Regions from separate parts of the Homo sapiens genome. Here regions 1, 2 and 3 are each linked to region 4. Evidence: promoter capture Hi-C in 16 types of primary human blood cells and fetal thymus (Javierre and others, 2016). All regions are on one chromosome and are shown on one strand. The core of a region is centred on a gene start or on the middle of the fragment in contact, and the rest is flanking DNA. Distances in the headings are between cores, read along the strand shown. Region 1 overlaps CDC42BPA (CDC42 binding protein kinase alpha). Region 2 overlaps CDC42BPA (CDC42 binding protein kinase alpha). Region 3 overlaps CDC42BPA (CDC42 binding protein kinase alpha). Region 4 holds the start of CDC42BPA (CDC42 binding protein kinase alpha).

Region 1 (6,083 bases), core at 1,790-4,289, 160 kb after region 4:
CATGATCATGGCTCACAACAGCTTTGAACTCCTGGGCTCAAGTGATCCTTCCACCTCAGCCTCCTGAGTAGCTGGGACCACAGGCATGCACCACAATGCCTAAGATTTAATATTTTTTTTTATAGAGACAGAGTCTCACTATGTTGCCTATAGATGAGATATGTAAGTTCTCTGTGGAAAATAATTCATAACTGAAGAATATAAAAAAAGACTTATAGGTTTAGTGTATATACAGATGGGAAGTGTCACATTGCAAAGATGTCAGTTCTCTTCAGATTAATCTATAAAATCATGATTCCCATAAAAATTTCAATATGTATTATAGAACATATTAAGCTAATTCCAGCATTGATCTAGAAGAGTAATGGCAATTAAAAAATATGCTCTGCCGATAGGAAGCTCATTATTTTATAATTAAGACACTGTGGTATTGGTGCAGGTAGAGGCATATGGATAGGGTGGCCATTCATCTTGGCTTGTGTGGGAGAGTTCCAATTTATGCCTGTTATCCTGGCAATTATTAATAGGCTCCCTTTCACTGTAAAGATTGTCAACTGAAAAAAAATAGAGTAATACAGTAATATTTTTGCTCTTCTTGAGAGTCCTGAAACAAACCCACTAAATTTATGACGTATGTGGTATTAGATAATAGTGGTGAAAGGATATCATTCAGTAAATGGTGCTGGGGTAGAAAGAAATGTAACTGCCCTTTATCTCACACTACACACAAAAATTAATCCCCGGTAGATTTAAAAACTGGAAAAGCATAACTTTAAAACTTACACAAGAGAAAATTAGGACACCATCCTTATGATGTCTGGGAAGACAGAAATCATAGTATAAATTATAAGACTACATTAGTATTTTATATATATATATATTTTTTTTTTTTACAAATAAGAAGGACATTAAAAACAATGGAAAAACAAGCCCACATGCAGGGAGAAGGGATTTGTAACACATCATGAAGAACTAAGTTCGAGTAAATAGAATCCCTGAAGATTAAACAAAAAACAGTGCACACACAATTTTTACAACGGCAAGGGATATTAACAGGCATTTTATAGAAGAGGAATGTAAAATGACCAATGATACCAGTGATAATATGAAAAGATTCTCAACTGTATTCGTAATCATGCTAGCACAGTTGAAGATGTCCATATCTTTCATCTCAGAAATTTCACTTCTACATCTATAGTCTGGAGAAGCATTCATATATGAGTACTAGAAGACATTTATTAAAATATTCATCCAGCATTCTGTGTTTTAACAAAATAAAAATGGGCAACAATCAAAATTCCGTTATCAGGAGAATTGATAAATTTTGATATGTATATAATTAAAATTAATTAAAATTAATGAATTAAAACAATATGTCCCAAAATAGATGTTTTAGAAACATATATACACACACATATATATGTTTGGAAACATACACACATATGTTTGGAAACATATACACACATATATGTTTGGAAACATACACACACATATGTTTGGAAACATACACACATATATGTTTGGAAACACACATGTTTGGAAACATACACACATTTATGTTTGGAAACATACACATATGTTTGGAAACACATATGTTTGGAAACATACACGTTTGGAAACATACACATGTTTGGAAACATGTTTGGAAACATACACACGTTTGGAAACATATATGTTTGGAAACACACACATATGTTTGGAAACACACACATATACACACACATATATGTTTGGAAACACACACACACACACACATATATATTTATTTTATTTTATTTTTTTCTTTTGGAGACAGTTTCTCATTCCATCACCCAGGCTGGAGTGTAGTGACACAGTCACGGCTCACTGCAGCCTTGACCTCCCAGGCTCAGGTGATCTTCTCACTTCAGCCTCCCAAATAGCTGGGATCGCAAGCATGTGCCATCCTGCCCAGCTAATTTTTCATTTTTATTTTTTGTAGAGAAGGGGTCTCACTGTGTTGCACAGGCTGTTCTTAAACTCCTGGGCTCAAGTAATCCTCCCTCCTCGGCCTCCTTTGGCCTCCCAAAGTGCTGGGATTATAGGCATGAACTATCACACCCAGCTGATGAAGCATAATATTTGAATAAACCAAGTTGCAAAAGGCAATGCACAGTTTGGTGTCATTTATAAAGACATTTTAAAAAGTACATAGTTTTATGATGTTGTATATAGGCATAATAGTGTAAAATATGCATGGATACAGTAAACACCAAATTTAGGATAGTAGCTATGTCTGGGTAGTGGAGGGAGAGGATGAGATCAGGAATGGTAATAGAATACTTATGTTTTTCAGTACTATCTGTAATGTCTTGTTAATTTTTAGTATTTTCTATTTTATTTATATAGTATTATGAATAAAATATATTCACATAATATGCTTTATGTATATGTATATAGTTTATAATTACTATCTATAAAATAAGCAAAGATATTATTGATGCATATAAATCCTGTCTTTGCAGTTCCTTTAATCTCCTTTACAATCTAAGAAGTACTATACCAGTAGAAGTAATTCGTAGTGACTGTATAGCTTAATTTTTAAGATAAAGAATAAAATATTTTTTCCTCATCTAAAAATGGTCTTAGTAATTGCTAAGCTTCCTTCCAGAACTAAACTGTACTTCTTTGATGTTTCCTCTACAGCAGATCTTTTTCAACAGGTTAGAATACAGTCAAATGTTGAGGATTATAAAGCTAATACCCTATACAGATTGTTGTTTTCAATCACCCTGTCTCTCTTTAGCAACCATCTATCATCTACAATAGGGGTTTGAAAACTTTTTCTATAAACAGCCTGAGAGTAAATATGTTAGGCTTTGTAGGCCATGTGGTCTGTGTCACAGCTACTCACTTTGCCTTTGTAGTGTGAAAGCAGACATAGGCAATACCTAAATGAATGGGCATGGCTGTGTTTCAATAAAACTTTATTTACAAAAACAGGCAGCAAACCAGATTTGGCCGTGGGCCATAATTTACTAACTCGTGATATACAACACACTCAGAGAAATTGCTTCAGTAATCAAAGTAATACTGTTATAATATTTTACCCTTATTATGGGTGGTAAAACTGAAGCATAGAGATCTTAAATGGCATTATTCAGGTTAAAGTAGCCCTCCCATATTCCTGTAATTTACATGGCAATGTAATTTTTTAAAAAATATATAGGTTCTCCAGAGATTCTTTTTCTCCCTCTAAAAGTAGAGTGAGTTGGGTGGGTATAATCTCTTAGTTATTCACAATTACAACCTTTACTATGATTAGAAACTTAATATTGTTAAGTCCCTGAGAATCTTCTTTACAGAACCATTTTATATATGATTATTTTTCTAAGGTTTGCATTCACATGCAAAAACAAATACAAAAGCTGGTATATGATATAGTTTAGATTTGGGTATCTTACACACCATTGACTTAACATCCAAAGACAATGAAAGCTTTAAATAATATAGACAGTCTATTAGGCAGTTGTTTTAGTTCTTCTGTAAAATCAACTTTATGAAGCAATTTCTTTGTGTTGTCATGACCTGCAGTAATTGAGACTTTATCTATCTGCAGTTATCTTAAGGTCTAGAAAGTATATTTTTCCCTGTCCAGTTTCATGGGCTAGAGGATAGTATTTTTTGTGGTTATCAGGTAATGTTGACTCTTCTGTATGCAGAAAGTAGGTCTACCATAGTCACATTGGAATCTGTGTAAATCAAAAGGAAAGATAGTAAGATTAATTTAACCAGAATGAAAATTACCACACTACTTTTTATCTCTAGAAGAATACTGAAATTACATGTGTTTGAGAAAGTTTTAATATGAATCAGAACCAGGATTTGAATTAATAAAGTAATTAAATAGATTTTCTTAGAATATTACTTTTAAAATAAGTTGAGATTTTTTTCTGACAAAAAGAATATCTTACCAAACAATGAATTGTTTATTTTTCCACTAAAAATTGAATTTATTTATTTTTTCAGAGACATTAAACCTGACAATATACTGATGGATATGAATGGACATATTCGGTTAGCAGATTTTGGTTCTTGTCTGAAGCTGATGGAAGATGGAACGGTAAATAAAGATAAATCCTAAATTATTTTGTTCACAGACATTTCCCTTGCTATTTGTCTGATATATCTGTTTTAGAAACCATCTATTTATACTATCTACCCATCCATCCATTTGTCTATCTATGCGCCACCTCCTTCCACAAAGGCATTTGGGCATACTTACAGTGGGGTTGTCTAAAAAGTCACAAGCCATTTCAGCTGCTTATATCAGTGATCTTAAGATTGATAAAATATACCCTTTATGAGACCCTTGTTTGCTCCTTCTTTAGTTGGTGACTTCTGTTGTACTTTAGATATTTCAAAGTTCACCGGGGGTAAAAGAACTAAGTCTCACATAGAAAAAGAAAACGCAGCTTTGCCCGCACTTTTACTTTTTTGTCTTTCTTTCCTAAATTGCTTAGTTATTCTAAGGGATAGTGTTCAACAAATGAATCCCTTTTTCAGAAAGTTCACAAGTTGATTTAGTTTCATGTTCCCATTTGCTTAACTTTTGCTAACCCTAAACCCGTCAGTTGGTTTTTTTTGTTTACTTAATAGCTGGGCATGGTGGTGCGTGCCTGTAGTCCCAGCTACTGAGGAGTCTGAGGTGGGAGGATCTCCTGAGCATGGGAGGCAGAGGTTGCAGTGAGCCAAGATTGCACCACTGCACTCCAGCCTGGGCAACAGTGAAGTCCTGTCTCCCACCCCCTCACTCCCCCAGAGCCACCCAGAAAAAAAAGGCTGGGCATGGTGGCTCACGCTTGTAATCCCAACACTTTGGGAGGCTGAGGCAAGAGGATCACTTGAGTCCAGGAGTTTGAGACCAGCTTAAGCAACATAGTGATACTCTGTCTCTGTTTTAAAGAAAAAAAAAAGTTTATATGCCACAGTTTTATTCTGTTTTTTTTTTTTTTTAACTTCATTTTTTTCTGGCCATATAGGAGAGGTCCAAAAATATATCAGTTTAATTGACAGAAACTTTTTGGAGGACAGTTTAGTATAATACATTCCAAAAGCCATGAAAATGTCACATTACTCTAGACCAGTAATTTTAACTTTGGAAAAATTTTATTATTTTTTTTTTAGACAAAGTCTCTGTTGCCTAGGCTGGAGTGCAGAGGCGCCATCTTAGCTCACTGCAACCTCCGCCTCCTGAGTTCAAGTGATTCTTCTGCCTCAGCCTCCCAAGTAGTTGGGATACAGGCAAGCACCACCACGCCTGGCTAATTTTTGTATTTTTTGTAGAGATGGGGTTTCACCATGTTGGTCAGGCTGGTCTCAAACTCCTGACCTCAGGTTATCTGCCCACCTCGGCCTCCCAAAGTGCTGGGATTACAGGCGTGAGCCACCGTGCCCGGCCAACTTTGGAAAATTTGTCCTACAGTGATAACTTTGTTAAAAAGAATTATGTGACCTCTGTCTCTGGCCATGATAGAGGGATTAAATTGGTACCAAATTAGCACTCCCACTGTAAGGAACTGTAAAACTGGATACAATAGTTGAAGCTACTGTTTTCCAGCAGTGGACAACAGGCAGCATAATACTATTATCCCTGACATAAATGAACTCGTGAGGTATTCCTCACGATTGCGCAAAGACTGGGGCAGTTCCTGACTCTGATGCAGAAAGCTAGAGTGAAAGCAGAGCTGGACTACCTGCAGCAGCTGGAATATGCAGGGCTTGGCATTGGAGAGGAGGGAATTGTGCAGAGAGAGGGCATAAAGTGCCTCATGAAGGTTGGGCTGTGCATTGTACCACAAGACCATATGAGGCTTGACAATAGCAGATGATAGCATTTGAAAACAGACCAGAATACTAATGATCAAGCAGATCTCCCAGGCAGGAAACAGTGCTAGGGGAAATTGAATTTTCATCCCTGGAGAGCCAGCTAACACCTTTGTATCACCTAAGACCTACTCTCTAACAACCTAAGTCCAAGCCCTGATTAGATCCATAGAGTTTGGAAGTCTTCCTTCCAAGTAGAGGGGCTTATGACAAATCTTAGATTTTTGTATGAACCTACA
Region 2 (5,972 bases), core at 1,009-3,508, 190 kb after region 4:
CCGATTTCTCAATCTTTTCCCCACCCTTCCCCCCTTTCTATTCCACAAAACCGCCATTGTCATCATGGCCCGTTCTCAATGAGCTGTTGGGTACACCTCCCAGATGGGGTCGTGGCCGGGCAGAGGGGCTCCTCACTTCCCAGTAGGGGCGGCCGGGCAGAAGCGCCCCTCACCTCCCGGATGGGGCAGCTGGCCAGGCGGGGGGCTGTCCGCCCCCACCTCCTCCCGGACTGGGCGGCTGGCCGGGCAGAGGGGCTCCTCACTTCCCAGTAGGGGCGGCCGGGCAGAGGCGCCCCTCACCTCCCAGACGGGGCAGCTGGCCGGGCGGGGGGCTGACCCCCCCACCTCCCTCCCAGACGGGGCAGCCGGCCAGGCAGAGGGGTTCCTCAGTTCCCAGTAGGGGTGGCCGGGCAGAGGTGCCCCTCGCCTCCCGGACAGGGCGGCTGGCCGGGCGGGGGGCTGACCCCCCCACCTCCCTCCCGGACGGGGCGGCTGGCCTGGTGGGGGCTGACCCCCACCTCCCTCCCGGACGGGGTGGCTGCCGGGCGGAGATGCTCCTCACTTCCCAGACGGGGTGGCTGCCGGACGGCGGGGCTCCTCACTTCTCAGACAGGGCGGCTGCCGGGCGGAGGGGCTCCTCACCTCTCAGTCGGGGCGGTTGCCAGGCAGAGGGTCTCCTCACTTCTCAGACGGGGCGGCCGGGCAGAGACGCTCCTCACCTCCCAGACGGGGTTGCGGCCGGGCAGAGGCGCTCCTCACATCCCAGACGGGGCGGCGGGGCAGAGGCGCTCTCCACATCCCAGACGATGGGCGGGCGGGCAGAGACGCTCCTCACTTCCTAGATGGGATGGTGGTGGGGAAGAGGCGCTCCTCACTTCCTAGATGGGATGGCGGCCGGGCAGAGACGATCCTCACTTTCCAGACTGGGCAGCCAGGCAGAGGGGCTCCTCACATCCCAGACGATGGGCGGCCAGGCAGAGACGCTCCTCACTTCCCAGACGGGGTGGCAGCCAGGCAGAGGCTGCAATCTCGGCTCTTTGGGAGGCCAAGGCAGGCGGCTGGGAGGTAGATGTTGTAGCGAGCCGAGATCACGCCACTGCACTCCAGCCTGGGCACCATTGAGCACTGAGTGAACGAGACTCCGTCTGCAATCCCGGCACCTCGGGAGGCCGAGGCTGGCGGATCACTCGCGGTTAGGAGCTGGAGACCAGCCCGGCCAACACAGCGAAACCCCGTCTCCACCAAAAAAATACGAAAACCAGTCAGGTGTGGCGGCGCGCCTGAGGCACTCGGCAGGCTGAGGCAGGAGAATCAGGCAGGGAGGTTGCAGTGAGCCGAGATGGTAGCAGTACTCTCCAGCTTTGGCTCGGCATCAGAGGGAGACCGTGGAAAGAGAGGGAGAGGAAGACCGTGGGGAGAGGGAGAGGGAGAGGGAGAGGGTTGAATTTCTTAATTGGTGAACCACAAGCATTTGGGGTGAGGTAATTTTTTCACATGAGAGAGAGTTTCACACTCTGAGATATTGAACATTCTGAGTTTCCAGATGTTAAATGCTTGTAGCAGTCTCCTCATGTGCTGTGTCAACAACTGACTCCCGTTCTCCTGTCCCCTTACATAAGGTGATGGTACCACCTGCAGTAGAGAACCACTAGTTTAGGATGTGGCCAGTTAATCTGATGGTTATGCTGGAGAGAAGTCTATCAGCTAGATTGTTTTGGGCTGCAGATGTGAGAATTCTTAAATAATATGGATTTATTTTCTCACTTAAGTCAGAAGTAAATGGTTTCAGTGCCAATTTTAGGGTAGCTTCCCTATTAATTTCTTGGCTTTCCTTACATGATTCCACAATATTGTAAGCCTCAACTTTCAGATGTAAACTTTGGAAGGTAAGACCTCCCTTCATACACCAGATTCAGTTCTTCATATATCATCTGACAGACATACCAGGCATTTCATTTATCACACGGTGATGTTCCCTGCTAGGACAAAAAGGAGCTAAGTAGATTCATTGGCAGAGTACACCAAGAATTCCATCTTCATATCTGCACATATCCAGAGACCCAGAAAGTGGAAAGATTCATTTAGTTTCATACATCTTTCATTTAATGGGAGATTAAAACCTCTCCCTGAAGCCCCCTAGTGGACTTCTTCTCAAGGTACCATTTAAGTTCTAACTAGGTCACATACCTAATTCTTGACCAACACTTGCAATGTAGAATGGAATTATTATGATTAACTTAAACCAGCCAGTTTTGACTGGGCCCACCTTACATGTGCACACTGTAGCCTGATAATTGAATTTGGTTCACAAGACAGAAGAGATGAATAGATGTCGGGTAAAAACAAGCAGTATCTGCCGTAGGGGATTTATGTGCCTCAGAAGTCAGTGTTAGATGGATTATCTATTTTGATGTTAAAGTTACTAAGAATAATAAGAAGAGTAGTAATGGAAAGAACAGCAGAGAACAACATGTAAAATCCTTATTTAAAAAAGAGTAAGATAGGGAAGACAAGTGGATAACCACATAAGCAGGAAATGGTCATTTCAGTAGACCTAGGAATTTTGAGGAAAGAGGTGGCAATAATGAGCGAGGATGCCTGCCCCACCTTCATACCTGTGGTAGGTGGGGTACAGGAGGAAAAGTAGCTCCTATTAATGTCCATTTGGTATTCTTTGGTCTTTTGTTTGTTTGTTTTTTTTTGAGACAGAGTCTCGATCTATCACCCAGGCTGGGTGTAGTGGCATGATCTCAGCTCACTGCAACCTCTGCCTCCCAGGTTCAAGCGTTTCTCCTGCCTCAGCCTCCCGAGTAGCTGGTATTACAGGCATGCACCACCATGCGTGGCTAATTTTTGTATTTTTAGTAGAGACGGGGTTTCACCATGTTGGCCAGGCTGATCTCAAACTCCCAACCTCAGGTGATTCATCTGCCTTGGCCTCCCAAAGCGCTGGGATTACAGGCATGAGCCACCGCACCTACACCTCCCCTGCATTGGGTATTTTTATGTCTCCCCATTTTCTACCCCCAATTTAGATGTCTTAAAAAATAAAAACAATGGATGTTCTTTTCAAAATAATAAATACGGAAAGGACCAGTTTTTAGTATGTTTTGAACCCAAAGAGAAAGAAATGTATAAGAAATACTTATAGGATGCAGAAAATCAACATCAGATGCACAATCTAGTATATCTTATACCTTTAATTCAAATTAACAAATATTTATTGACTGCCAAACATATAGGGATTATGGTTTACACACACACACACGTACATATGCACACACAAAGTAATCAGTAATGATTTGCACTAACTCATAAAGAATTATGGTAAGGGAGAGACTTATTATGTGAGAATCCCTCCATAAATAGCAGAATACCTATTTTAGAACAAAGGGCAATTTCATTTCTGATGTAAAATGGTAAAAAATGTTTTCTTTGTTCCATGTCTTTTGATGATATCTGGGAATAAGCCTCAATAGAGTTATTGTTTTTTTAAAACCTTGTATTTTTTAATTAGAAGTGCAAGATAAATTAATATTTTCTATTTTAACTAAATATTTTAGCTAAATTGTTGAGCCATGGTTACCTGTAGCTGGGCCTCAACTTTCAGACATAAAATTTGGAAGGCCAGCATTTCTGCATATGTATATTAACATGCCTAACTCTCCATTTGTAAACCAGATTCAGTTCTTCGTATAGCATCTGACTGACATACCAGGCTTTTGAGTTATCACATGGTGATGTTCCTACTAGGAGAAAAAGGAGCTATGTAGTTGATTCATTGGCAGAGTACGCCAATAGTATTTAAAACCAAAAATTATTAGAAGGTGGATTCTTTTGTATATATATATATGCAGTGGATTTTTTTTTTTTTTTTTTTTTTTTTTTTGAGATACAGTCTCACTTTGTCTCCCAGGATGGAGTACAGTGCCATGATCAAGGCTCACTACCACCTCAACCTCCGGGGCTCAAGCAATTCTCCCATCTGAGCCTCCTGAGTAGCGGGACTTCAGGCATGTGCCACCATGCCCTGCCAATTTTTATATCTTTTGTAGAGAAAGGGTGTCATTCTGTTGCCCAGTCTGGTCTCATACTCCTGTACTCAAGTGATCCTCCCACTTTGGCCTCCCAAAGTGCTGGGATTACCATGCCTGGTCTGATTTTTTATGACTTAATTTTTGAGTATTCACATGCTTTTTGTCAGTGAGTAGATGTTTTGTTCTATAAAATTGTATAAGAATTTCTCTCCAAAAAAATAATGTTATTAGTTTTAAGAATTTAGAGTATGGTGATATTTTTATTTCTTTTATCCTTTTTTTTAAAGAGTCAACACAGACTGTCCAAGCTCTGCAGTATTCAACTGTTGATGGTCCACTAACAGCAAGCAAAGATTTAGAAATAAAAAACTTAAAAGAAGAAATTGAAAAACTAAGAAAACAAGTAACAGGTAAATATCTGTGATTCACTGTTAATTCAATTTAGGAAATGTTTAAAAAATGGTTTATTCACACAAAAAACATCTATTGAGAACCTGTCTGTGTTATGTGATGTGAGTTGCATGCTAGTCAGGGAAGGGCAAATAAGAATGGGTTCTGCTCTCAAGGAGTTCACATTTTGGTCTGGGAAACAGATAAACAGTTATTGCAATACATATGAAAAGGCTATCAGGAAAAATAAATGGAGGTACGTGGAGAGTACATAGGAGGATCACCTGACACAGACTTACGTGAACAAGGATGGCTTTTTTGGAAGGCCTATTCATTTTGGAATTTGTCTGGCAAAGCATATTTGTGAGGAGAGGAAAAGGTGAGTTAGGAGTGAGGAAGAAGGACACTAGAGACAAGCAGAGTGCATGTATACAGGCATCAAGAAAATTTATTTTCTTTGTTAATGCAATTATTTTTTCAGTGTATTACTGAGATTAAAACTAAATTTGACAAGTGTTCGTATACCTATTATTCATTTATTGCATTTTTTCAATAAATATATTGAGCACCTACTATGTAGCAGGTGTTGTTTTAGGCTCTTGGGATTCAACATTAAGCAAAACAGACTAAACAAAAATTCTTTGCTTTGGCCTGGGTAAAGGACAGAAAACAGAAACCAGTAAATATATAACTTTGTAAATGATACAATATGTTGGAAGGTAATAAGTGCTTTAAAAATAAGAATAGAATAAGGAGAATTAGTCAGATGTGCAAAATGAGGAGTTTTATCATTTTAAATATAGTGCTCCAGGGGTAGGCCTGACTGAGAAGGTGACATGTTAGCAAAAATTTAAAGAAGGCAAGGGGGTTAGCCATACAGTTATCTGCAAAATATGTGTTCCAGGCAGAAGGACTAGCCGGTGCAAAAACTCTAAAATCAAATGTGCCCCAGGTGTTCAAGTAAAACAGAGAGTACTGGATGGCTAGAGCAGAATGAGCAGGCAGGGAGAATGGAAGGAAATGAGAACTAAAGGGGTGAAATGGGCTTGTTGCCTGATCAGTAGAGCCTTACTGATTGTTGTAAGGTCTTTGGTTTTTACTCAGAATGAAATGGCAGTTTTTCGCAGGGTTTAGAGGCATTACATGATCTGAATAAGCAGAGGGATAGGGAGAGAGAGCAGAAGGTACTATTTTAACGAGAATGGTGAGGCCTCTCCAGAAAGGTAGTTTTAGGCAAAAATAAGTGAAAGAGAAGAAATAATCTAATGTAGCATCTTTTATAAAAATGACTATTTAAAATGCCATATTAATACTTTGTTTATATTAAATATATGGAGATCTTAGTTTTGAGCATAATTTATGAATGCTATTTTGTGTTTTTAAGAGGCTCTCCTCCTAAGAAATATCTATATATCTAATCTCTGTTACTTTATCTTTCCAAAAGTAAGTTATTGTAGATTGGGAACATGATAAGTGAATCATGGAGTTTGCTTTGGTACCAACAATAACATTAAGAGTGCCACTGAATGTCTGTGTTAGAGTTGT
Region 3 (5,494 bases), core at 1,790-4,289, 200 kb after region 4:
TAATTAGTAATGAGGTCAAGTATCTTCACATGGGTCTATTGTCGTTTACATTTCTTTTGTGAAATGCTTCTTAATATCTTTTGTATATTTTTCTGTTGGGTTTTTTTCTTACTGGTTATAAGAATTCTTGGAAATATTTGGGCATTCTAATCTTTTGTGAGTTATATGTGTTACAAATATCTCTCAGTGGCTTATCTTTTTGCTTTTAGGAATCTTTTTATTAAAAAGTGTTCTTAGGTTTGTTGTGGCCAGATTTATCAATATTTTTATGGTTAGTGTATTTGCTGTCTTGTATAAAAAATCTGAGATTTTAAAAAATTCTCCTAAATTTTTATCTTAAAGTTTTAAATTTTTAGGTCTGTATCTCAACTATTTTTTGAAAACTGTGAAGATGGAATTTTGATTAAAACTGCATTTAATCAGCTGGGCATGGTGACTTATGCTTGTAATCCTGGCACTTTTGAGAGGCTGAGGCAGGAGGATCACTTGAGTCCAGGAGTTTGAGACCAGCCTAGGCAACAACAGAATGAGACCCAGTCTCTACAAAAAATAAAAAAGTTAGCTGGGTGGTGCACACCTGTCATCCCAGCTGCTCAGGATGCTGAGGCAGGAGGTTCACTTGAGCCTGGTAGATTGAGGCTGCAGTGAGCCATGATCATGTCACTGCACTCCAGCCTGATCAACAGAGCAAGACCCTATCTCAGGGGGAAAAAAATGCACTGAATTTATAGGTCAATTTAGGGAGAATTAACATCATTACAATATTGTCTTTAAGTTCTTACTATCTATATTTATTACTATTTTTCTGAATATACACACAGATTTCCAGAATAGAACGGATTGTTATTACTTACATACAGCAAAGAATAACTACATGGCTCCCTTCTGTGCCAAGTCTTACCCCAAGAGAAATACCCTGAGAGCTGGCAGGATAAAACCCTACACATAAGGAGTCTGTGTTGTAAATGAGGAGCCTTGAAAACATTTATGCAGGTGCTTATATAGAGGAAAGAAGCAACTGCTTCCTGCTTTCTCCTGTTCTGAGAGAGTTCCTTGGAAATCTAAAGAGAAGGATCTTGGGTTCTTTCTCTAACCCTTTGGAATATAGATAAATATTCCCTCTGGAAATATAAGCCCAGAGTCTCCTGCTCCATCAAAGGAAGCCCCCTTGGTCCAGGCTCCTACTCTCTCCCACCCCACCTTGAAATGTAAACACATAACCTCCAGAAGGTAAATCTCTTAGTTTTCTCACTACTAAATCAGTTATAAGTTACTTTTTAAGACTTTCATTTAGCCCAGGTTTCGGTAAAATTTGTTCAAAAGGGACCAGCTGCAAAAACATAAAAGTTTCTCTGCATTCCTAAAGTCTTTTTATTTGTAAACATGATATCTCTCCATATATTTAAAGTTCTTTTAAAATGTTCTTCCATAAAATTTCATACAGAAAAGACTTTCATTTCTTTTCTTGTTTTACTGTATTAGCTAGAACCTCAGTACAGTGTTGACTAGAAATGATAATAGCAGGCATCCCCATCTTGTTCCCCGATTTTAAAGAAACTGCCTCTGATATTTCATCGCTAATAATGTTTGCTGTAAGTTTTTAATAAATAATTTTTATCAGGTTAAAGAAGTTACCTTCTATTCCTATTTTGTTAATACCTTTTATTTAGAATGGATACTGACTTTATTAAATGTGCCCTTCTGTGCTCTATTGATATGATTATATGATTCTTGTCCTTTAATAAGTTGGTGTGGTGAACTACGTTTGTAGACTTTTTCTAATATTAAGCCACTGTTATATTTCTGGGTTAAGCCCAAATTTCTTATAATACTGTGATAGTATAGATAACATTTATGTAGCAAATATCTGTTCTAATAGCACTGTTGTGAATGCTTTACATATATTAAATTATTTAATCTCCATCACAGCCCCATGAGTTAGGTGTTATTCTCATTTTATGAATGGTGAGACCAAGCACAGAGAAGTTAGTTCACTTGCTCAAGGTCATAGAAATAGAAAGTGGTGGAGCTAGATTTTCAGCACAAGGAGTTTAGCTCCAGACTTCATGCATATCTACTTTATATATCACTGGAACTGATTTACTAATTTTCAAAAAGGGTTTTCACTGTTTTTTATAAGTGAGATTGACGTGTTTTTTTTTTTCCTCTTTTCTTTTTTTTGATATTCAGATTATACTGGTCCATAGAAAGAGTTGAATTGCATTCCTGCTTTTTCTCACGGACCAATGAGTTATTTATAAGTATCTTTTAAAATTTTCAATATATGGAGTTTTATCTTTTTTTGTTGACTTCTAATTTAGTTGCAGTGTCATTACAGAACTTGCTCTACGTGGTATCTGTTCTTTGAAATCTACTGAGACTTGCTTCATGGCGTAGCCTGTTCCATTTTTAAAACATTCAATGTGTGTTCTTGAAAATAGTTCGTGTTCCAATTTAGAGAGCAAGCTTCTGTGTATGAAGCTTTTCAGATCGTCTTTATATTCACTATTTTTTTTTTTTTGCCTACCTGGTTTATCTATTAATGACTAAGAAATTAAAATTTTTCATTATAGTGATGTTTACCAATTTTTCTCTGAAGTTCTAACAGTTTCTTTTTAATGATTTTGAGACTCTCTTATAGAAGGCACAAAAGTTTAGGATAATATTTCTTCTTAGTGTATTGAATTTTATCATTATGTAGTGATATTCCTTATCCTTAGTAATACTTTTTCTACTGAAGTCAAGATTTCATTTCTTAATCCAGTATAATAGATGGCCTTTAACTGGTTACTAATGTATATGGATGTGTTTCTACTATCTTTTTTTCTGTTTGTCATGATTTTTGCATGCTGCTTTTTATTTCCTTTCTTCCCTTCTCAAAAGTTTTTAACTGTGGTAAAATACGTATAACATAAAATTACCATCTAAACAATTTTCAAGTGCACAGTTAAGTAATGTTAAGTGTATTTACATTCTTGTGCAGCAGTCTCCAGAACTCTTTTTGTTTGCAAAATCATTTCTTCTTCACTGAAATTTGTTGTTGTTGTTGTTGACATTTTAGTTTACTCTCTAGTCTTTTGGTGGTTACTCTTGGCTTCTACCATGTGTATTAACCAAGTTTAAGTTTAAGTTAAATATCCTAAAACTATTTCCCACAAACAATTTAAAGACGTTTAATTTTACAGATTGAGTATCCCTTATCTGAAATGCTTGGGACCAGCATTTGGATTTTGGAATATTTGCATTATACCAATTGAGTATTTCTAACCTGAAAATCCAAAATCTGAAATGCTCCAGTGAGCATTTCCTTTGAACATCATGTTGGCACTCAAAATGTTTTGGATTTTGAAACATTTCAGATTTCAAATTTTTTGGATTATTCAAGCTGTATTACCTCTTTACAGCTTTATGTGTTGTTATTGGCCAGTATTTTAGCTGTTATCTTTTGTTTACTGTACAAAGTTAACATTTTTATAGTATAATCTTATATACACATTTGTTTACATTCACATTCATGTTAACCATTTTATTAGCTCTTCATTTCTCTTGCATTAGATCTCTAAAATCTTTTTTTTTTTTTTCCTGAAATAAAGCTTTACTGGTTCCTTTAGTGCAGATCTGATTATGGTAAGCTCTGTCAGTTTTGTTTATATGAAGCCTCAGACTTGAAAAGTAATTTTTGGGGTATATAATTTTAATTATCTTCTCATATCTTTGAAAATATTTTACCCTGTTTCTGTTGCTGTTGTTACTTCTTCAGTGTCTGTTCTTAGTCTAATTTTCCTCCTCCCCGCCTTATTTGAGGATGGGGAATAGGTGATTTGTCTTTCTTTCCCTCTGATTTCTTTACGGTCTTTTATTTCTCTTTGGTATTACCCAGCGTCATTTTTTGAACACTTCTGGTTTGGGTTTTCTAAATTTTTTCTTGATTCATAAATGTAGAGCTTCCTGTGGTGATGGATGCATGTCTTTAATTTTAACATTTATATTTTTTCACTTCTTTTCTTTTCTTTTTTTTTGAGTTGGAGTCTCACTGTATTGCCCAAGCTAGAGTGCAATGGAGTGATCTCAGCTCCCTGCAGCCTCAGCCTCCCAGGCTCAAGTCATCTTCCCACCTTAGTAGCTACGACTATAGGTGCATACCACCATACCTGGCCTTTTTTTTTTTTTTTACATTGTTATTTTTTGTAGAGATAAGGTCTCACAATGTCGCCTAGGCTGATCTTGAACTCCTTGGCTCAAGCAATCCTCCTGCCTCAGCCTCCCAAAGTGCTGGGATTATAGATGAGAGCAACTGTGCCTGGCCTTATGTTTTCTATTTCTAAATGTTCCATACAGTTCTTCTATAAATCTGCTTGGTCATTTTTAATAGCCTTTTGTCATTTTTTTGTTTTTATTATTTCATCCTTTATTCCTTGAAATATTTCATATGTAGCAATTTTGTGTTGATATCTAATGATTTTAATACCAAGATACCTTTGATGTTTATTTTTATTGTTTTTGTTGTTTGATTGTGGTGCTTTGTTCTTTGAGTATTTTGGAATCTGTGGTTGTGAGCTCATTCTTGTTTGTTCTTAATATGTGAAAAATTCAGATTTCATTGCACTTCTTTCCCCCAAAGAAAATTTGCATTTCCTTTTGCTGGGAGGCAGGTAGTGGTACTGCCCTGAGTCCACTTTAGCTCTCCTCTAAGTTTCTCATTTTAATTAGGGAGTCTCCGGTTTAGTTTCTATCTCCTTGCTTCTGGCTTGAGGCGTAGCCTCCATGTCAAGGGCAACACTTGTTTTTTATGAAAACAACCTCACACATATTTATTAAATTTCACAAATATTTATTTTGACCATCATATCGTTTATTCCTAAACTTTTTCCTCATTTGTGGAAACTAAGGTACTATAAGGTTAAATCAGCAGCTCCTGTGCATTTACTGTATTAGCATAAGGAATTGAGACTATATCAGGACACCATGCCGTTAATATCTGTTCAGAAGTAGTTTATTTCTTTTAATTTGTCCTAAGGTGAATAATTTTGGCTCTTCTTGACTTAATGATAGCTATTCTGATGGCCAAATTTGGTCTCTAGGTTGCAGAATTGGTAACTTATATTCTTTTTACAAAACTGTAGGAACTAGTCCAGGCTAGTGAGCGATTAAAAAACCAATCCAAAGAGCTGAAAGACGCACACTGTCAGAGGAAACTGGCCATGCAGGAATTCATGGAGATCAATGAGCGGCTAACAGAATTGCACACCCAAAAACAGAAACTTGCTCGCCATGTCCGAGATAAGGAAGAAGAGGTGGACCTGGTGATGCAAAAAGTTGAAAGCTTAAGGCAAGAACTGCGCAGAACAGAAAGAGCCAAAAAAGAGGTTAGTAGTCAGGCAAATTTTGTAGTGCCCATGGGATAGTGATTAAAGCTGCTTTTTGAGACTAGTAATATAATATATAATTTTTAAAATATTTCTAAAGTTATTTTTATAGTTCATTAATATTATTT
Region 4 (6,284 bases), core at 3,073-5,572:
AACTATAACTGTGTTGATTATATGTGTGCAAATTCTGCCTGTTTGCTCTTGCATTCATTTCTTACCCATTGCCTGCTCTACTCTGTCTTTGGGGACCAGTCATGCAGCCTCCCTTTCAGAGGCTCCGTGTTAGCTTCAAATGACAGGAGATTTGTGGTAAGAGGATTCTCCTCCCCTCTCTCTGACTATGGCAGCCTCCCCTGTAGCATTTGCATCTCTTCTGTGGCTCCATCTCCCACCAGCCCTGGTTTTAGCTTCCACCAGCCTAGGGGTGGGAATAGCTTCCTGCTGCTGCCAAACTGGGTTACCTGACTTGCCCTGCATTTCCTCAGCTCTTCCACCATCCATGGAACCATGTGTCAGAATTAAGGTTTCTCTGGTTTTGGTCGGGCACAGTGGCTCACGCCTGTAATCCCAGCATTTGAGGCGGGAGGATCATTTGAGGTCAGGAGTTCAAGACCAGCCTGGCCAACATAGCCCTGTCACTACTAAAAATACAAGAAAATTAGCCAGATGTGGGCCAGGCGCGGTGGCTCACACCTGTAATCCCAGCACTTTGGGAGGCTGAGGCGGGCAGATCACAAGGTCAGGAGATCGAGACCATCCTGGCTAACACAGTGAAACCGCGTCTCTACTAAAAATACAAAAACTTAGCCAGGTGTGGTAGGGGGTGCCTGCAGTCCCAGCTACTTGGGAGGCTGCAGCAGGAGAATGGTGTGAACCCGGGAAGCAGAGCTTGCAGTGAGCTGAGATTGTGCCACTGCATTCCAGCCTGGGCAACAGAGCAAGACTTGTCTCAAAAAAAAAAAAAAAAAGAAAAGAAAATTAGCTGGATGTGATGGCATGTGCCTGTAGTCCCAGCTATTTGGGAGGCTGAGGCAGGAGAATCGCTTGAATCAGGGAGATGGAGGTTACAGTGAGCATGTGATCACGCCACTGCACTCCAGCCTGGGAGACAGAGTGAGACTTTGTCTCAAAAAAAAAGCTTTCTCTGGTTTAAATAAATAGGTGATTTCTGCTTTTTTGGTTGAACTCTGATATAATCATGTGCGTAGTTCTTTCTTTTGCCCTCATATCAACTTCTAATGCCCAAATATGTGAATTAACAACACATCCCACTTCTTCCTTGTTACAATAGGAAGGAAAAGTTGAGTTTATAGAACCTGCAGATTTTTTAGACCTCACTTGCTTTGTGATTAAAGCCATGGGCACTGGCATGAGACAGGCCTGGTGTTGACTTGTAGCTCCTGTGTCAATTACTAGTTGTGTGATCTTTCACAAGTTAAGATCTCTAAGCCTCAGCTTCTTCCATCGTCTGTGATATAGAGGTAATTTCCCTACTTCATATGGTTATGATGATTGAATAAAACATGAGCTCAAACTACCCAGGACAGTGTTTACAGGTTGTTAAGTGTTCTGTAAAGGAAGCAATTATTAATCAGAAAGTTTCTTTTTTATATACAAGCCCTTGCAGTTGATCTCACTCATGTCAGGAGCCTGACATGAAGACAGGACAGGCATTTGCTGGCATTTTATCCTGGGAGGGTACTAAGCCAAGTCATTCATTTGCAGGGTCAGGATGTGGCTAGGCTAAAAGGAGATGTGGTAAAACATCCTCAGTGTTGCTATACATTAAGCCCTACTGTGGCACGCACCTTGTTTTTGGCTCCGTTCTCCAGCAATGACCCTATAGTTATTCTGAAGTTAGATATACCAAGGTGAGAGTGAGGCTGACTGTTATAAATATTAATTGGTGGATTAATTCTCCTGCTTTTAGCCCTGAATTGGAGGATTAGTTGAAGAGAGCTTGTATTGGGGACTAGGCTTAATGATTTCTGTCCTGCCTTCTTCTTTCCACCTTCCTACCTTCTTGTCTTCTCCTGTCCTCTTTCTTTTCTGAATGGTCAGATTAATTCCCAGCATCTTCATAAAACATTCTCTGATTATTTCAAACAAATTGGGTGTTTGCAGTGGTATACATCTAATCTCCAGGCCCCCAAGCAGAATTTCACAAAGAAGACCTCCTCCAGACTATTTTTCCCCAAAGAATACCCTGCGAGGCAGCCTGTGGCACTCTTGTTTTGCAGGAACACTTCAAGCACTGTACAGCTGCTGGGCTGTGCCTTTCTTTGGCTTAAGACCGGTTTCATTAACAAGCATGTTCACACTTCAACCGGAACATTTAAAATAACACCCGCACAATGTGTTTAGTGTCTAGTTAATTATTAAGTCTCTGAGCTTGAATTATTCAAGCAAAATTGATTGGGTTCAAGCTCCTTCCTTCTCTTTGTGTGTGTGTTTTTTAAAATAAAAATAAATTCTGCTCTCTACTTTCTAAATAATGTGGAAAGGGTTATTTAGCAACCATCAATACCCTGGACTGTGGGTGGTACCCAAGCGCTAATAGAATAGGTAAAGAACTGACAGCTTGACTCTTTTGTTAAAAAAAAAAAAAGTATCTACATCTCATATACTTCCATTGTCAATTAGCATTTAGTGAGACCTAACATGTTTTAGGTTCTCCTTTAAACTTCTTTCTAGTTATTTGTAAGTTGGAAAAGCAGGTATCTTGGAGCCATTTCTTTAGTTAACCGTACTTGAAAAAGCAGAAGAAATTGCTTCCTTCTTTGCTACCGCATCTTATGGTCAAATGAAACTGTTAAAATTGGCTTCACCATTAAAATCCATGTTGTTGAAGAATGTTTGTTGAACTGAAAAAATGTCCATAATATATTGCTAATTGCAAGCAAGAGGCTATAAAACTCTTTTATTATGTATCATTTTTGTTAAAGTGCATAGGAAAAAGACTTGAATAATAAACACCAAAATATTGCTTATTATCTGTGTTAGGATTAAACTTTTCTACTACTTTTAGAATTAGACAACACACACCCATATAAAGATGTCATGGCTGGAAATGACTGACCTTTTGTTTGAATCTAAGTATCATTCATGTCAAGACCGCATTGAAAATAATGCTGTTCTTAAGCCAGGCAAGTGTAGACGTTGTAGATTTCATAAAAGATTCACACTATTTCATGAATCACAACTTGAATCGACTTCTGTTAGCCTTCATTTTACGTCTAGGCCCTCATTTCTAATTCTTCCTCAGCTTCCATATTATCAAGATGTAAGATGCAATTGTGGACATGAACATAGAAACACAACCGCCTCACAGGTGTGGGGAAGGAATATAAAATAATTGTATTTTAGAGAACGACCATAAAGGAGATGGCAATTTTGAGAGAAAGTAACAGAACTGCAATGACCTAGTTTTGTGGTGTTAATTTAAATGTGGCATCTTCCATGAGAATTTTATAAAGGGAGCTCTCCTAAAACCGAGATTCACAAAAACCTGGAAGGGCCCTACAGGGATCAGGTGCCCTAGCTATTCAGCGATTTGCCTTTGCTTCCCTAATTCCTGCATTGTGCCACTGGGTTACAAGTGTGTGTGCGCATGCACACAGGGGTGTAGGTTTGATGACAGTGGTGAACTGCCTTGACTGCCTTCACAGGCTGAATCCCCCGCAGGCAGTAACCATGGCTAGGGAAAAACAGGCAGCCGCGAGGACAGTTCCGGAGGAGACAACACCAGGCTCCCGTAGGGAAACTTTTGGGAATGGAGATGGGGGATTCCATCCTTTGCGTGCAGACCCAAGACTTCGATGGTAGCTCGGACAAGTCTGTCATTGTTTTTGTCCTGGGAAATGACACACGAAGTGCTGTAATTAGACACCTAAGAAACGATTACTCTGGAGTGTGCGCGAACCGAATCTGGGGGGCCGGTGGGGAGCAGGTAAGGGGCTGAAAGGCACCGTCTCCTCCAGCTCTGTCGGAAGCCTAAAGCCCTCTGCTTCTGGGCGCCCTTAACAAACGCGCCAGACAGGTGATGTCTCCGAGGACGAGCAGGAGCCCCCCTTCGCGATCTGCACCAGAAGCCTCGGGGAGCCGGGGCCACGGCGCGGCGGTGGCGCAGTTCCCAGCCTGCGCCCAGTCCCGCCGCAGCTCCCGGCGCGGCCCGGTCATCCCGCCTCCATATGCTCCGCCACCGCCGCCCGGGCCTCCCTCAGCCCTCCCGCAGCTCCGCATTCCACGCTGCGGCAGCCGCAGCCTCGCCGCCTAGGCAGTCCACACCCCTCCCCTCGGGCTGGCGCAGCCACTCGGGCCCCGAGCCCGCGCCCCCTTGGGGGCCTCCGCTGGGCGCGCCGGCCGGACCCCGCCCGGCTTGGCCGCCGGCTGGGGCTGAGGCTCGGGCAGGGCGGGGGCGGGGAGTGGAGGGCGTGTGCGCGCGCGTGTGCCGGGGCCGGGGGGCCAGGCCGCCATATTGGATCCAGACTCGTCCGCAAGCCTCCGCCTCTGTGCGGCGGGACTGGAGGAGCCTCGCTGAGCCCAGGGCGCGAGCGCGAGAGGAGAGGGAAGGCGGGGGAGGGCTGGAAGGGAGAGGAAGGGAGTGGTTGGGAGCCGGGCTGCCGCAGCCTCTAGTCTCCTCAGCCGCGGAAGCGACCCCTCCTCCTGCGCCGGGCCGCCTCCCTCCTCGCTGTGGAAAGATGCCCTTAGCCCAGGGGTGTGAAGAAGGGGGAGAAGTAGCTGCCAGAGCCGCCCGCGCCGCCGCCGCAGCTGCTGCTGCTTGTGTCCTTTGAATTCAGAGAAGCACCCCCCCGCCTGGGGCGTCGGGAGCCTCCGGCGCGGCGGCCCGGTGCGGGTGTCGGGGAGACCGGGCTCTCTGCCCGGCGCGGCGCGGCGCGGCTCGGCCCACGAGCGACCACCGACATGGAGTGGGCTCGGGCGGCCAAGTAGCCGCTTCTCCGGAGCCCGGTGCCAGTGCCGCCCGCAGCCCGCCTTCCACCCCCGGCCGCGCCGCCGGTCAGGCCCTAGGGTGAAGCCGGGAGGAAAATGAAGAGTTTTCACCGGAATCCGTTGAAAATAGGACTGACTGCAAAGCCTTAAAGAAAGAAGGACCTCGGGAGGAGAAACGAAAAGCCGCCTCCGGGCAAGACTTGGCGTGCTCCGAGCCGAGGGGCTGCTTCAGGGACCTCGCCCCCTCCCTTTCCCGCTGGAGAAATTGCCGCTGATGCATTATCCAAGTGGTGGTTGGGAGGATTTGCAGCAACATTTTTGGTTTTCCCTCCCCCTTCTATGCATTCTGTTTTTTTCCTCCCTTTTCTGTTTTTCTTCTTCCCGGGAAGTGAATTGCTGATGCAAATCGGACTTTATTCATTAATGATGCAACCGGATTCGTTTCAGGATTACGTTGCACGAGTTGAATTTTGAATGAAGGAGAAGAGTTTTTTTTTTTTTTTTTAAAGAAGTGTTGACTCTCTAGTTCGTTGTACTTTTAATTATTATTTTATTTAAATATACGACTTAATTGTATTCTTTTAAAAATGCATTAAGTATATATTTTATGGTAATTTACCCTCAAAATATATGTATATGGGTGAAATTGAAGACGCTTCAGTTAAGTGAGGTTACTGGTGTGTTGGATGTTTAATTCAGCACCAGCATTGCATGACAGTTGTTTGAATAACAAGTGGTTTATTTTTAAAACCATACCTTTTAAAATTTAGGTTCAGATAATAGTAAAAGTCATCATAATAATTTAAAGGAAAACCAGCAGAAATCGAAGCAAACATGTCTGGAGAAGTGCGTTTGAGGCAGTTGGAGCAGTTTATTTTGGACGGGCCCGCTCAGACCAATGGGCAGTGCTTCAGTGTGGAGACATTACTGGATATACTCATCTGCCTTTATGATGAATGCAATAATTCTCCATTGAGAAGAGAGAAGAACATTCTCGAATACCTAGAATGGGGTAAGTTTGTAATTTTTAAAGAAACTGTTAATCTTTAGCTGGTCATTATGATTTAATTGGTATAGAGAGTTATGAGTAAACTCTACTCCGTTCAAAGAAAAAATACAATAAAAAAACAGACACTAGTTATTCAAGATTTTCCGCTAGTTTTTGGTAAATATTTTCCCAGGAGTAGAATTGTGCTGCTCAATTGTTGCCTTGATTTAAGGCCTAGCTAATGTGGAACTTGGCTATGAAGAACTTATGTTTTTAGGTCAACAGTAAGAGATTTTAAATCAATTCTGTGATGGGCAAAAGTGGATTATTGGTTACAGTTGCCTAATACATGGCACTATAATAGTCCTTCATTTGAAAGGTATTTATTGGTGGAAACATTCAGACTATGGAAATTATTCTCAAAATAGGAGGAGATATTAAAATATCTGTGTTTGCCTTAGGTCAACAGAAAGCTGAAGGTGGTGATCAGTGGGTTTTA

What was found. The method cuts DNA at HindIII sites, captures the fragments that hold promoters and counts their contacts. A CHiCAGO score of 5 or more calls a contact.
Region 1: a contact is called between a fragment that was not itself captured here and the fragment with the promoter of CDC42BPA in region 4, in 1 of 17 cell types (endothelial precursors). The highest score is 5.5, in endothelial precursors.
Region 2: a fragment that was not itself captured here is called in contact with the fragment with the promoter of CDC42BPA in region 4 in 1 of 17 cell types (endothelial precursors); the score reaches 5.8 in endothelial precursors.
Region 3: a contact is called between a fragment that was not itself captured here and the fragment with the promoter of CDC42BPA in region 4, in 1 of 17 cell types (endothelial precursors). The highest score is 6.2, in endothelial precursors.

Annotation. Positions count from the first base shown.
Region 1 is chr1:227,158,541-227,164,623 of GRCh38, reverse strand. CDC42BPA (CDC42 binding protein kinase alpha) reads left to right here. Exons shown (of 37, transcript NM_001394014.1): 6 at 3,988-4,081. Among named protein-coding and RNA genes, the nearest start is that of CDC42BPA, 160 kb to the left of the region's middle. The HindIII fragment of the contact is 838 bases long and covers 2,621-3,458 here.
Region 2 is chr1:227,127,584-227,133,555 of GRCh38, reverse strand. It overlaps CDC42BPA (CDC42 binding protein kinase alpha), which reads left to right. Exons shown (of 37, transcript NM_001394014.1): 11 at 4,325-4,447. Among named protein-coding and RNA genes, the nearest start is that of CDC42BPA, 190 kb to the left of the region's middle. The HindIII fragment of the contact is 7,743 bases long and covers 1-5,972 here.
Region 3 is chr1:227,112,543-227,118,036 of GRCh38, reverse strand. It overlaps CDC42BPA (CDC42 binding protein kinase alpha), which reads left to right. Exons shown (of 37, transcript NM_001394014.1): 13 at 5,124-5,366. Among named protein-coding and RNA genes, the nearest start is that of COQ8A, 170 kb to the right of the region's middle. The HindIII fragment of the contact is 1,112 bases long and covers 2,484-3,595 here.
Region 4 is chr1:227,316,530-227,322,813 of GRCh38, reverse strand. CDC42BPA (CDC42 binding protein kinase alpha) reads left to right here and starts at 4,322. Exons shown (of 37, transcript NM_001394014.1): 1 at 4,322-5,809. The coding sequence starts at 5,632. It overlaps LOC124904531 (a long non-coding RNA gene), which reads right to left and starts at 4,222. Exons shown (of 2, transcript XR_007066911.1): 1 at 3,816-4,222; 2 at 2,753-3,700. The HindIII fragment of the contact is 5,578 bases long and covers 988-6,284 here.